Linked DNA regions of Homo sapiens: region 1 is linked to region 2. Evidence: promoter capture Hi-C in 16 types of primary human blood cells and fetal thymus (Javierre and others, 2016). All regions are on one chromosome and are shown on one strand. The core of a region is centred on a gene start or on the middle of the fragment in contact, and the rest is flanking DNA. Distances in the headings are between cores, read along the strand shown. Region 1 holds the start of HOXC11 (homeobox C11). Region 2 holds the start of LOC124902939 (a long non-coding RNA gene).

Region 1 (6,025 bases), core at 1,137-3,636, 42 kb before region 2:
TATGGTGGCCCAGGAATAAACTTTGGTGGTCAAATTCAAGTGCTCAGTCCAGCAGCTGTCTCCTCACAGGATACAGCCCCTACCCCCATCTCAGTCCTGGCTTTGCTGAATCTGCCTTGGGGGATTGGGCCCCACATCACCCTGGAGGGCCAGGAGGGGGAAGGAAGCAGAGCCTTGGGTGGAAGTGGAGAAAGCGGGATCTGAGACTCGAGCCCTCATCCACACCTCTGCAAGGATAGGGGTACCTCTCGCTTCCCTCTTGCTGGTTCCTATCACTGTTTGGGCAGCATTTTGCCTTCAATAAACTCGAGTTTAATGAGGTCAGTGTGAACCCCATTAAAAGCCATAGTCCATAGTTCCCCACCACTATAATTAAAAATGCTGGCCCCATCTCACTCTATAAAAAGGGCTAGAGGAAAAAGGAAACACAGCAGATTTTTCTTTTCATGGCCCCTTACCAACAGAAGTCTCACACTTCAGCAAAGCCCCAATCTAGTTCTTCTTTGCTTCAGTTTAAGATCTGACCAGAACTAAAGGAGTAGCGCCCAGCATTGAGTGCGTAGAGGGGCACCTGAGACCTATCCCTGAGTATTCCAGAACCACCCTGAGAATGGGACCCATGGTGGAGGCAGACTCCACTCAGGTGTCACTTAAATGCTGAGCAAGTTTGAGGAGGCAGGAGCATTGAGGAGGAATGGATTTTAGGGGTTACATATGGAGACAAGCTACAATTTTTTGTGTCCTCCTTATCTGGTTTGGGAGCCGCAGCACCTTATCATGTTTCATCAAGACAAATCCATTCTAATTTCTTTAAGTGGAAACTAATTTTAACTGAGGGTTATGGATGTAAAGAGAGTTCGGGCTATTTTTTGTTTTCCCCTGAGTGTGCATTGGGCTGAGCCCTTGGGGGCTTCGGTTCTTCCCCTCCTTCCCAAACAAATTGTGCCCTGGCAGCTCCTCTTTGGATCCAAGGTTGCTTTCAGCTCATGCTGGTTGCTTTTGGCCCCTTGGACCCAGTCCAGAACCTTTCAATAAAGTGATTTTCAGATGCCCACATGTGTCCTGTGGTGCTCAGAGGGATGGAAGGCAAGGGGTTGGGGATGCAGAATGACTGAGCCTACTTCTTGGGCTACAGCTATCCAGGAGGCTGACAGACTTGTAGGAGGGCAGGACAGGGCTGAGAAATAGGAAGGAGGCACTAAGATCTGGTCACAGCCCCAGGGACAGAGGCTGGGGGCTTTGACTAGGGAGTGGCCGCTGGGCCTCCCCTGATGCCACAGCATCCACCGCTCCTTTCCACTGTCTGGTTAGTCTCTTCTGGAGACCCATACCTGGCCCCACCACCCACCTTACAGTCCTCAAAATCATCCAAGGATAAGAACCCCAAACCTAGTCCCCCCCACCATATTCTTCCTGGACCCCTACACTAGGCTTCTTTTCAGCGCACTAGCTGAGGCTGAGCCACTAAGCCAAAGGGCCCTGACATAGAAGATACATGGCTCTCATTCCAATCCTTTTCTTTGGGGTTTGGGATTTGAAAATCCACAGTGGATGTAGCTTTCTTCACATTGATTGACAATAAAGGCAGGCATGAAATATTCACCCAGGGCCACTCTCTCATACTAAATATTTAACACAACATTAGAGAAGGTTTTTCCCAGACTTCGCCAGGCACCGGCTGGGCGGCTGGCGCACTGCTCACCACTCGTTTATGACTAATCTGACTCCCTAGCCAGGGGCAGCACAGCAAGCCAGACAAAGTTGGGACACTGGCTTGCAGCTGGGCTGCCTCACCTTTGGGAAACTTCAGATACTCTTCCGGGAGTCTCTCTAAGGACTCCAGAAAGGTAGTCTTGACACCCAGCTCTGGCCAGGAAAAGAGTGGACTTCTTCAAACTCTTGTGAACAGGCGGTGTCTCTGCGGGTTGGAAGGGTAAGAGTCCCTGAGATTTAAGGGAAAGGATTCACTTCTCTGGGGAAATCAGGCAGTGGGGAAAGAAGTCCTCACTCCCACCCTCCTGGTGCTGCTCACAGAGAGGAGGCAAGACCCCCATACATGAGAGCCCTCCTCCTTCCCCCAATCCTGGGGGAAAAAAGAGCAGCAGCTAGAAAAAAATACAATTACCCCTTCCCAGCCACCACCCTCGCCCATCCCACCGCCCACCCCACCCCAACCCTCTCTCTCCTCCTTTGCTCGTGCTGTGGTATGGAGAGAAGGGGAGTGACGAGAGAAAAACGAATACAAATCTGCAATTGATTTTCATAATGTTTCTGCGGTGTTTGCAAACCAATCGCCTGAACGTCCCCGATCTTACCTAAGAGAGAACCCCTCCTACGTCTGCGAAGTGCTCCGAACTGATATATGACAATATCTACTTTGGATCACGTGCTCAGAGAGAGAGAGACTAAGACGGATAACGCGTCATCTCGCCTTCCCAAATTTTCCCCCCTCGCTAGACCGGGTCCAAAACCTCCATCCGGAGCCGGCAGGAGAGGAGAACGATGTTTAACTCGGTCAACCTGGGCAACTTCTGCTCTCCGTCGCGCAAGGAGAGGGGCGCAGATTTCGGCGAGCGAGGGAGCTGCGCCTCCAACCTCTATCTGCCCAGTTGCACTTACTACATGCCCGAGTTCTCCACGGTCTCCTCCTTCCTGCCCCAGGCCCCCTCTCGTCAGATCTCCTATCCCTACTCGGCCCAAGTGCCCCCGGTCCGGGAGGTCTCCTACGGCCTGGAGCCATCCGGCAAGTGGCACCATCGGAACAGCTACTCCTCCTGCTATGCGGCGGCCGACGAGCTTATGCACCGGGAGTGCCTGCCTCCTTCCACCGTCACCGAGATCCTCATGAAAAACGAAGGCTCCTACGGCGGCCACCACCACCCCAGCGCCCCGCACGCAACCCCCGCCGGCTTCTACTCCTCAGTCAACAAGAACAGCGTCCTGCCTCAAGCCTTCGACCGTTTCTTCGACAACGCCTACTGCGGTGGCGGCGACCCGCCCGCCGAGCCCCCCTGCTCCGGCAAGGGCGAGGCCAAGGGGGAGCCCGAGGCACCCCCGGCCTCGGGACTGGCGTCCCGGGCTGAGGCGGGTGCCGAGGCGGAGGCTGAGGAGGAGAACACAAATCCCAGCTCGTCCGGTTCAGCCCACTCCGTGGCCAAGGAGCCGGCCAAAGGAGCCGCCCCCAGTAGGTAGCAGCGGCCGGGGAACGGGCGGGCAGCGAGGGAGGGAGCGAGAGAGGGAGGGCGAGAGAAGGGGGGAGGCAAGGGGAGCGGGGACGGCCTCGTGTTTTGGGTCAGTCCGATTTTATGTGGAGTTTTATAAGCATTCAAAGGATTTTATTATAACCTACAAAGCCCTCTCTCCCAACGACTCGACTTTTTACGATGGAGAAGGGGTGGGGAGGGAGGGAAAAGGGCTCTTTGGAAAAGCCGGGTGAACCCCCCTCCCCCGTTATCTCCCTCGGTCTGTGAAATTTTTAAAAGCGCAACCATTGCGGGCGATATTAACTTTGATCGTGAACTTAGAGGAGCATTTAAGGAAGTATGGGGAGCCGGGCTGCCGAGGAGTGGGGAGGAGGGGAGGGGTGGAGGGGGAGAAAGGGGAGGGCGAGGGAAAGACAGGGAGAGATCCAGAGAGGGGGAGAGGTGGGGGAGAGGAGCAATGGAGCAGAACCTGAGACCGGAGAGGCAAGCCAGGACCGCTATGATCCTTCTTAAAACTAGTTTTGAAAATGTTCAAACTATGTGTTCGCGGGTCCTCGAGCAGAAACCCAAGCAACTCTGGGGTCAGCGGCGACAGGGGAATGGGGCGAGGCGGCGCAGGACTCCACTGCGTTCCAGGCGGGGGTCTGGGCGTTTCTCCCGGGTCCGCGGCCTTAGTGCTTGCCTAGAACTGCGGTGTGGAAGGCGCTGCCCCGCGGGCTTCCCGGGGCGCCAGGGCCCCGGAAGCGGCTCTCTGGTGTCTCGGTGCCTGCTGGCCGGCTTCCTCCCCGCCTCCCGACTGCTCTCGCCAGATTTCACTGCTTCGCGCCTGTTCTCAGCTTTCCCCCCAGATTTCTGGGGGAGGGGTTGGGCTTTCCGAACCACTAGGAGGGCGGCCCAGGAAGGGCCCGAGGGCGGAGGGGGAGCAGACAGGGGGCCCGAGGGGACGCACGTGTACCTGGAGGGCTTTCCTTCTGTCCCAGACCCTGTCAGCCGCGGCTCTCGCCTGAGAACTGGGGACGGGGTGGCGCAGTGGCGGGGGGGTGGGGACCCGCTAGACCTGGCAGGGGGTCGAGGCTTGCCCGGGTGCTGCGGCTGCAGGAGAGCCAGCCGCCTGGCGGGAGGGCTGCCCGCGGTGGGCTAGGAGAAGGGCCGCTGAGCGCTCAGCGGGCTGGGGTCGCCCGGGTCTCACGTGTCTCTCTCCCCCCTCTCCTCGCACTTGCCCCCTCCCCTCCCTCCAGACGCCCCCCGCACCCGCAAGAAGCGCTGCCCTTATTCGAAATTCCAGATCCGGGAACTGGAGCGAGAGTTTTTCTTCAACGTGTATATCAACAAAGAGAAGCGGCTGCAGCTGTCCCGGATGCTGAACCTGACGGACCGACAAGTGAAAATTTGGTTTCAGAACAGAAGGATGAAAGAAAAGAAACTGAGCAGAGACCGGCTGCAGTATTTCTCGGGAAATCCTCTGCTGTAACCTGCAGACCGGGCCCTTTTGGGGGCGGGGGGAGGGGAAAATTATTTTATTTTATTTTTATTTTTTATTTTCTAACTCGTCTTCTTTCCGCCGGTGGAAAACTGGACTGTGGCCAGGGCTGGCCCCCACCGCTGTGGCCGGCACTCCATTCCGGAACCTCCTGGACCCTCTATCTGACTCTCGCTGTGGGACAGGGACCGGGCCTGGAAAGGGGGTGAAGGGAAGTGTCTGATGCACGGCGAGTGAACACCGTTGGCGCCGAGGCCAAGACTTTGATTTAAAAGAAAACACACCTCGGCGACAATGTCTTGCTGCTCGGATTAGGTGGGGGAGGGGCGACAGTAGTGAGCGCCTGAGCCGAACAATCCTCGAACTAAAAGCCTTCCCTTGCCCATGTGAAAAGATCCGCTAAGACAGCATGTCTGCCAGCGGAAACTTCTCGAGCTCCCCCCTCTACCCCGCCCCACCTTGCAGCTAAATGTGATCCTGCCTTGCTGTGAAATTTCTGTACCTTCAACCTGGTGTTAGGTGTGCAAAGTCCGTGTCCTACCTCCGTCTTCGCCAAGGCCCCGCCCGAGCCTAGTTGTTCTCCCCCTGAATGTGTAGAACCTTCCTTTGAAATTTCTTAATCGGTGCATTGAGGTTTCCACATCTTTTTCCAAGCAGTGCCCCACTTCATGGATTTATAGCTATAGTCTATGCAGTCGTTACCTCTTTTTTTTTTTTTTTTAAGAAAATTGAAGATTGGGGTGGTGGAGGCAGTAGGGAGATGGGATTGGGCACCTCCCCCGTGCTGGGGCCTGGATTTTTGTAAATAAATTTCCCAAGCGTTTCTTTCCACCTGGAGGGAAAGGGGGGGACGCCCCCAGTGAGATTCAAATCACGCATCTCTACTCCTCTGCGTGAGTGCGTGTGTACATGTGCACTCCCCACCCTGCTCCCTTCCCAGAGGGATTGCTGTGAAATTTTTTTGGTGGCAAATAAAGATAAATTTCATTCTGTTCAATATTATGATTTTATTTGACCCTTTTATTAACCCCTCTCCTCTTAAAATCCTCCATGCTCCCATGGCAGCGGCGGAGGAGGAGGAGGCAGGCAGGCAGAGCCCAGCGGGTGAGGACAGGCAGGCAGAGGTGAGATAGGCCGGTGCTAGCCGGCCTGGAGCTCCTCTCCGCTGGCAGGGCCAAGAGTATGGCCGTAGTCTCCTCACATTCTCAAGCTGAGGACATTCCATAGCTACTCTGAAGCTCTCCTTTCTCACGTGCAGCTCGAGCTGTGTCCAAACGCCCAGCAACGGCTTTCTGTTTAAGTACACGTTTGTTGTGGAGTTAATTGTAACCATCATCGAATT
Region 2 (6,417 bases), core at 346-2,845:
GCCTGTCTGCAGGGCTTGCCTGAAGATGGGGGATGCTAAGAATGGAGGGTGAGGAAGCTTAAGCCTGAAGGAGAGGAGAAAGGAAGGGGAAAGTAAGTGAGCTCGTAGGCAACCAGCCTGAGCCCACATCCTGAAATTCACATTCAATCCTCTGCACAGGAAGATTGTCATCACTGTCATTCAGCCCGCTTGCATCCACTCCAACTTCTGTTCAGACGGTTTAAAGTCCACTCCCCACTTCACCTTGGCAATTGGTCAGCTTACCCAGCCCCCATAGTGTGGGCCATTGGCCTGGAGGATGGGCCTGCTGAGTGGACATCCTGCCACCCCAGTCACAGCGGGGTAAGAGGGCGTCTTTATTGGTATCTTCATTCCCCAAAATGAAGAATTGAAGGCTCAGGGACCCAGGGGGTAGAAGGGTCTCTCACTTCTCTCTGGAGAGTCCTGGACTTAAAAATTCTGTTTATGCCAATAAGATTCTGGTCAAATAATCCCAAATTCCAGAGATACAAGTCTTCTGACTCAGTCAGGAGAGGGGAAAAGGGAGGGGAGGGATCTTCTGGTCTTAAAAACCAGACCCCCGAAGGCTGAAATATTTTTGAGGCCAGATTTTCTTTCTTTCTTTTTCTCTTCTCTTCTCTTCTCTTCTCTTCTCTTCTCTTCTCTTCTCTTCTCTTCTCTTCTTTCTCTCTCTCTCTCTCTCTCTCTCTCTCTCTCTCTCTCTCTCTCTCTCTCTGTCCTCCCCACCCCTCATCTGTCTAGCTCCTGGTCAATGATTTTCCCAGACCTAGGCCCAGGCCAACTCTTGTTTTGTGGAATTTCACCCAGGTCCCAGTCACTGGTCCCCACGCAAACCGGGCCTGAAAATCGGGCCTGAGTAGAGAATTGAGTCGGGCTTCCTTCACAGGGGGACTCCTGCAGTCCGAGAAAGGCTGTGAATTGGAAGCACAGGCTGCAGGCAGCTGGGGCAGCTTTGAGCAGGAGCTCCGGGAAATCTTCTCTAACCTGGGGTCCCTGCTGTGAGCAGCGGCACCAGCCAGGTAACCTGTTCTCAGTGGGAGACACCGGCTACCCACCAGGGAAGCCAGAAAAGAGGCCATTTCGCTCAGACCTCAGGCCTTCCCACAGGCGTGTCCTCCATACTCCGAGGGATGGCTGAGGTCCCGTTTCGTTTTTAAACGTGGAATTATGATTGCTATTAATAAAAATATCTGGCCCAGTAGCCTAGCGGAATGAACCCAGCATTAAATGGCTCCGAAGGGCCTCGCCGCCTTTTCCCCACACCAAATGTGCCATTTATCCCTTGTCCTGTTCAGCAATGTCCGTGGCCCCAAGCCCGGCGCGTCGGAGGGCGGGGTGCGTCTGGCGCCCGGCTTTACTCGAGATGCCAGGCATGGAGAGGGCTAAGCCGAGGGAGCCCCAGCCACCCCCTCATGCAGTACCCGCTCCCCCACCCCTCCTGCCCACCGCCTCTGTTTTCTCGTTTGGAAAGAAATGGAGGTAAAAACCCGTTTTATGGGGGAACGTAATTGTGAGCGGGATGCGCTCTCTTTAGAATCGCGTCCTCCCAAATGCTCCCGCCGTCCCATTACCGGAATGGGGACCATTCGGCTGCTGCAGATAGGACTTTCTCTCCCATTCTTTACTTTTTTATTAGCCAATCAAAGTGGCTTCCGAAAGCCATTTGTGATTTGTGAAAAATAGTATCTTTCAAAATGCTGAGTTGAAGCATCTCGCTCATTGCTCCTTGAATTTATTATTCTAATCTCAACCGTAGAGCTGGAATAATGCAGCTATTAAGTTGGGGGGCAAATTCGTTTCTCTGGATTAAATTTTTTTTCCTCCCCACTCCCTCATTGCATCAGCCAAGGAAGGTGCGGACCTGCAAGAGATCTGGGGGTGGGTGAGAGAGGTAGTGAGCGTCCTGAAGGGCTCCTTGAGGGACCCTTGGATAGGCGAGTGGTTTGGTCTCCCCAGTCTTATCTTCCCCAGATAAGATGCCCTAATGACTGCCTGCTGGCTGGGAAAGTTACCCCGCCCAATTAGGGAGAATTCAGGACAGGTTGTGCCACAGTCTAGAAGTAAAATTTCCGGTGAGCTGCCCGCAGCGCCGTCCCATTCTCCCCGCTGCCCATTGTGAAAAGCTGGGCCAGCGCTTCCTTGTCGTAATTTTTAACTACCTGTTATAAAATTTATGGGTGGGTTTGTGAAAAGAAACGAGGTCCCTGCATCCGGCCTAGGGAACTGCTTTTCTTACTATGGAGGAAGTCTGGGGAAGGCATGAGGTATCCCCTCTTGGTCAGGGTTGAGGCACCCAACCATTGAGATTCCCATGCCAGCTTGATGCGGGACCAAGTGGAGAGATGCCGGCCTTCAAATCTCGAGCCCGTGGGGAGAGTGACCTGCCTGCAACCCCTCCCCCGGCAAATAGTCTCTATGGGGGAATTTATTCTGGACTCACCTTCAAAATTAGGGGTCTGGAAAAACAGGCTGCTCGAAATTTTAGCACAGAAGGTGGAATTCAGGGCAGTAAAAGGTTATTTTTTCAGGCCTCGGTAGTACATCCCAGCTGCCCAGACATTGAATCAGGAAATTTTTCTGAGAAAGGCAGGTGGGTATGGGCAATCTGACACGATCCAAAAGGCTTACTGCCTTGCACCCCTCCCCGCAAAAAGGAAGTAGAGACCAAGATCTTGGGCTTTAATTTTATTTTTAATTGTAAAAAGATTTCAAATAAGCCACCATTTGAACTGGGAAGGGAAACTAGGGATGGTCTTGGGGGAAAATGTCATTCTCTCTAAGAAAGGGACCCCGGGGATGTGGGTCGTTTTGAGGGTCCTAGAAGTTGACCCCAATTCTCACCTCTCCTGCTGCACTGCAGGATTGCCCAGGGTAGGTCTAGTCCCCTAGGTTCTTCAGACCACTCCAGGTCAGGTTTGGTTGGGTGGCTGCCAGTGGTCTTCCACTACTGTTCCTGTCTAGGGTGGAGTAGGAGCTTTCAGGGGTACGGCATAGAGGGGATGTTGTTCTCTTACTAAAAAAAAAAAAAAAAAAAAAAGGTAGGGGTAGGGAGGCACCCTTTCAATCCCTGCAATTCACCAGCCATCACTGCCTCAAGGCCACAAATCTTTGCAAAGCTTTGAATTCCGCCTGATCCAACCTTAATGCCCCCATTTATTAAGGACAATATTTAAAACTCGGCAAGCCAGGAGAGGCAACCGACCCTCAGTGCTTGAAGCTTTCTTTCGCCTGGGCGTCCGCCCTCAGCTCTTTCTGCGCTCGCCTGCAGCAGCCTGGCCCGTGGGGAGTGGGCGGTGGGTGGGGGTAGGGGTGGGGTGGGGGTCCGGGGATGCTCCCTCTATGAGAGAATTGGGTAAACATGGCGACCGCGGCGCCCATTTGCACACGCTACACAAATGCATCGCATTCCCGGTTGTTTGCAGAAAATTTACAGCTGAGTAATAAAAGTTTACGATCGACTCACAAGTTGGATTGGCCACAAGAAGTCATGTGGATTCCATCCATGAACGTGAACTTTTTATTGTGGTTTGTCCGTTCCGAGCGCTCCGCAGAACAGTCCTCCCTGTAAGAGCCTAACCATTGCCAGGGAAACCTGCCCTGGGCGCTCCCTTCATTAGCAGTATTTTTTTTAAATTAATCTGATTAATAATTATTTTTCCCCCATTTAATTTTTTTTCCTCCCAGGTGGAGTTGCCGAAGCTGGGGGCAGCTGGGGAGGGTGGGGATGGGAGGGGAGAGACAGAAGTTGAGGGCATCTCTCTCTTCCTTCCCGACCCTCTGGCCCCCAAGGGGCAGGAGGAATGCAGGAGCAGGAGTTGAGCTTGGGAGCTGCAGATGCCTCCGCCCCTCCTCTCTCCCAGGCTCTTCCTCCTGCCCCCTTCTTGCAACTCTCCTTAATTTTGTTTGGCTTTTGGATGATTATAATTATTTTTATTTTTGAATTTATATAAAGTATATGTGTGTGTGTGTGGAGCTGAGACAGGCTCGGCAGCGGCACAGAATGAGGGAAGACGAGAAAGAGAGTGGGAGAGAGAGAGGCAGAGAGGGAGAGAGGGAGAGTGACAGCAGCGCTCGGTAAGTGTTTCCTTATTGGTTCAAATATGTAACTAATGGTCCGTGGCGGTTTCAAGAATAGGACAGCAGCGGCTTCTCTTGGTTAGGGAGAAGAGGGGGCTGGCGAGAGGGTGGGCGCGTAGTTAATTATGGGGAGGAAAATTGGCGGGGGGAGAGAAACGGGGTTAAACTGGAATACCGGTAACTGGTAGTGGGGCGATTGTGTTGTCCTGATGTCACTGTGTGCCAAGTTGGGGGTGGGGAGGCAAGGGAACAGCACCTGTGGGGCTCAAGCCGGCGGTCTAGGGCGCCAGCTCTCTGCTGCCCACTGTGTCAGTACCTGCTTATTATAGATCTTCGGTCTCTTGGCTAATGGAACTGGGTCGGAGCGGAACTGGAAGCTCAAGCTCCAGGCAGGAGAGAGAACTTAGAGGCTGTGCCCATTGCCCCCTAAGCAAAGTTAGCCCCCCAACCCCCAAACAAACTTTCCAGCTTCCCCTCCCTGTCTGGCAGCCCCCTCCCTCCCAGAGAGCGCGACTGCTAGAGCTCACACATGCGCAGTGTGGGCCCAGGGCCGGGCCGCCGAGCAGGAAGCCGGCGCAGCTAGGCGGCCGGCGGGGCCTGTTAATTGGCAATTAGGGGGGAGGCTGGTGGCTGGTGCGCGTCAGCCGAGAGGAGAGCGTCTGCCCACCCCCTGCTCCCGCCCCCACTCGGGCGGATGGAAGGGTGGGAGGTGCCCTGCGTTGGGTGGAGGGTGGAGGTTGTAGGGTGGGGGTGGGGGATGCTGTACTCAAAAGCCATCTTGTGCTCAGAGAAAAGAGGCCTACCGGCTTTCCCTTCCGGGGTCCGGCGCCCCTCACCCCCAGCCGCGGCCATCCCAGCCGGGATGCCCACTGGACCGGGATGCCCGCTCGCCACGCATGGCTGCTCTGGGCTAGGACCTGCCTCGCCTCGGGGGGAGGTGGAAATGGGGAAGGCCCTAGGCTGGGCGGGGACAGGCCCAGTCCTCCTGGTAGAGTCTCCTAGGTGCTGTGGAGGCAGTGAGGATTCCGGGGGCTGCTGGCTTATGGGGTAGAGGCGTCAGCCTGGGGCGGCGGGAGGGTCCTGGGCACTCGGGATCTCTCTAATAATTGGTGCTAATGGCCTGTTGTATAGTCTTAACCCGACGCATATGGTTTCATAACACAGTGGCTTAATTTCTTCCAAATGTACGTGGCCCTGAATGTGTTGCAGTTTGATATATGACCCCGCCCTGCTCCCCGGCCTGGGTCCGAGGCTCCGAGGCGGCCCCATAAGTGTGAATTTCTGTTTATAAACGGCGACGCACACGCAAACGCCTACACACCCAGGCAGACACACCCGGAGGCGTGGGGGAACATATTCCAGACGAGGTCCGAGAGAACCTGGGGGCCAGACTTACCTTAATCTAAGCCAAGACACCCCCTCTACCCCCACCCTCTCCCAGAGGCGCGACTGGGATTCTGCGCCAAGTCCCAGTGGGGGAGGGGATCGCTCCACGATTTCCTGTTTAAACCCTGACCCGTCGCCTGTGGGGGGGCGGGGATGGGGGAAGAAACCTGTTTTTATCAAATTTTTAAAAATACAGTTTGCATTCAGATCAAACCGTTTGGGCCAGAGCTGACGGTGAATTTTATCTCCCCTCCCCCCACAACCCCCTTCCCTTCCTTTTCTGCCCCCGCTAAATTCCCCTTTCGCAGCCATCATAAAGGCCTCTGAGGTATTCTCCCGCGGGAAGAAATGGCATTTTCTCTCCCCCTCCCCCACCCCCCCACCCCCAGTAGGACTTGTGTGTCGGCAGAGGCGTCTGACGAGGGGCTAATTTCGCTTTCCTTGTTTACGATCGAGAAAAGCGCTTGGCTCTCCCCAAATGGGCCCAGCCCGCCGCCTGCTCAGGCTGCCGCGCGCTCTCCCGCCGCTCAGGCACGGCCCAGTGGCTGATGCCCCGCGGATCCAGCCTGCGGCAGGCCGGAACCCGGAGTCTGTGGGACCTGAAAAGGGCAAAGGGAGTGCGGTGGGACACAAGAGGGGCCCGAGAGGCCCGAAAAAGGGAGCCTTTCTCCTGGAGTAATGTGGGAATCGCCGACCGGTGAGGCCTCTATTTCTCTCTTTCGCCTGCATTTTGTCCGCCCCCGCCCCTGTGGATGGCCGCTGATGGGGGGGAACACAAGTGTCCTTTGTCCGTCCCCGAAAGAAAACCTTTTCCAGAGAAGGCCATTCAGGCCAGTGGAGATTCACCTAGAATATTAGAAGGGCCCCCTCCCACCCGAGGGGCGGGCCTGGGCGAGGCTGAGGTATTTCTCTTAATCCTAGAACGACCTCACT

The links. Contacts are between HindIII fragments. The CHiCAGO score rates a contact against its expected background, and 5 or more counts as called.
Region 1: the fragment with the promoter of HOXC11 here is called in contact with a fragment that was not itself captured in region 2 in 1 of 17 cell types (total B cells); the score reaches 5.9 in total B cells.

What each region holds. Positions count from the first base shown.
Region 1 is chr12:53,970,740-53,976,764 of GRCh38, forward strand. HOXC11 (homeobox C11) reads left to right here and starts at 2,387. Exons shown (of 2, transcript NM_014212.4): 1 at 2,387-3,184; 2 at 4,442-6,025. The coding sequence starts at 2,503. The coding sequence ends at 4,674. HOTAIR (HOX transcript antisense RNA) reads right to left here and starts at 4,215. Exons shown (of 7, transcript NR_186241.1): 1 at 4,159-4,215. RefSeq lists enhancers at 3,613-4,207, 4,538-4,687. The HindIII fragment of the contact is 12,279 bases long and covers 1-6,025 here.
Region 2 is chr12:54,013,320-54,019,736 of GRCh38, forward strand. LOC124902939 (a long non-coding RNA gene) reads right to left here and starts at 4,428. Exons shown (of 2, transcript XR_007063323.1): 1 at 3,485-4,428; 2 at 2,694-3,034. It also overlaps a transcript of HOXC4 not described here, a transcript of HOXC5 not described here and a transcript of HOXC6 not described here. RefSeq lists silencers at 4,584-4,753, 4,824-5,093 and enhancers at 5,134-5,203, 5,135-6,417. The HindIII fragment of the contact is 3,080 bases long and covers 56-3,135 here.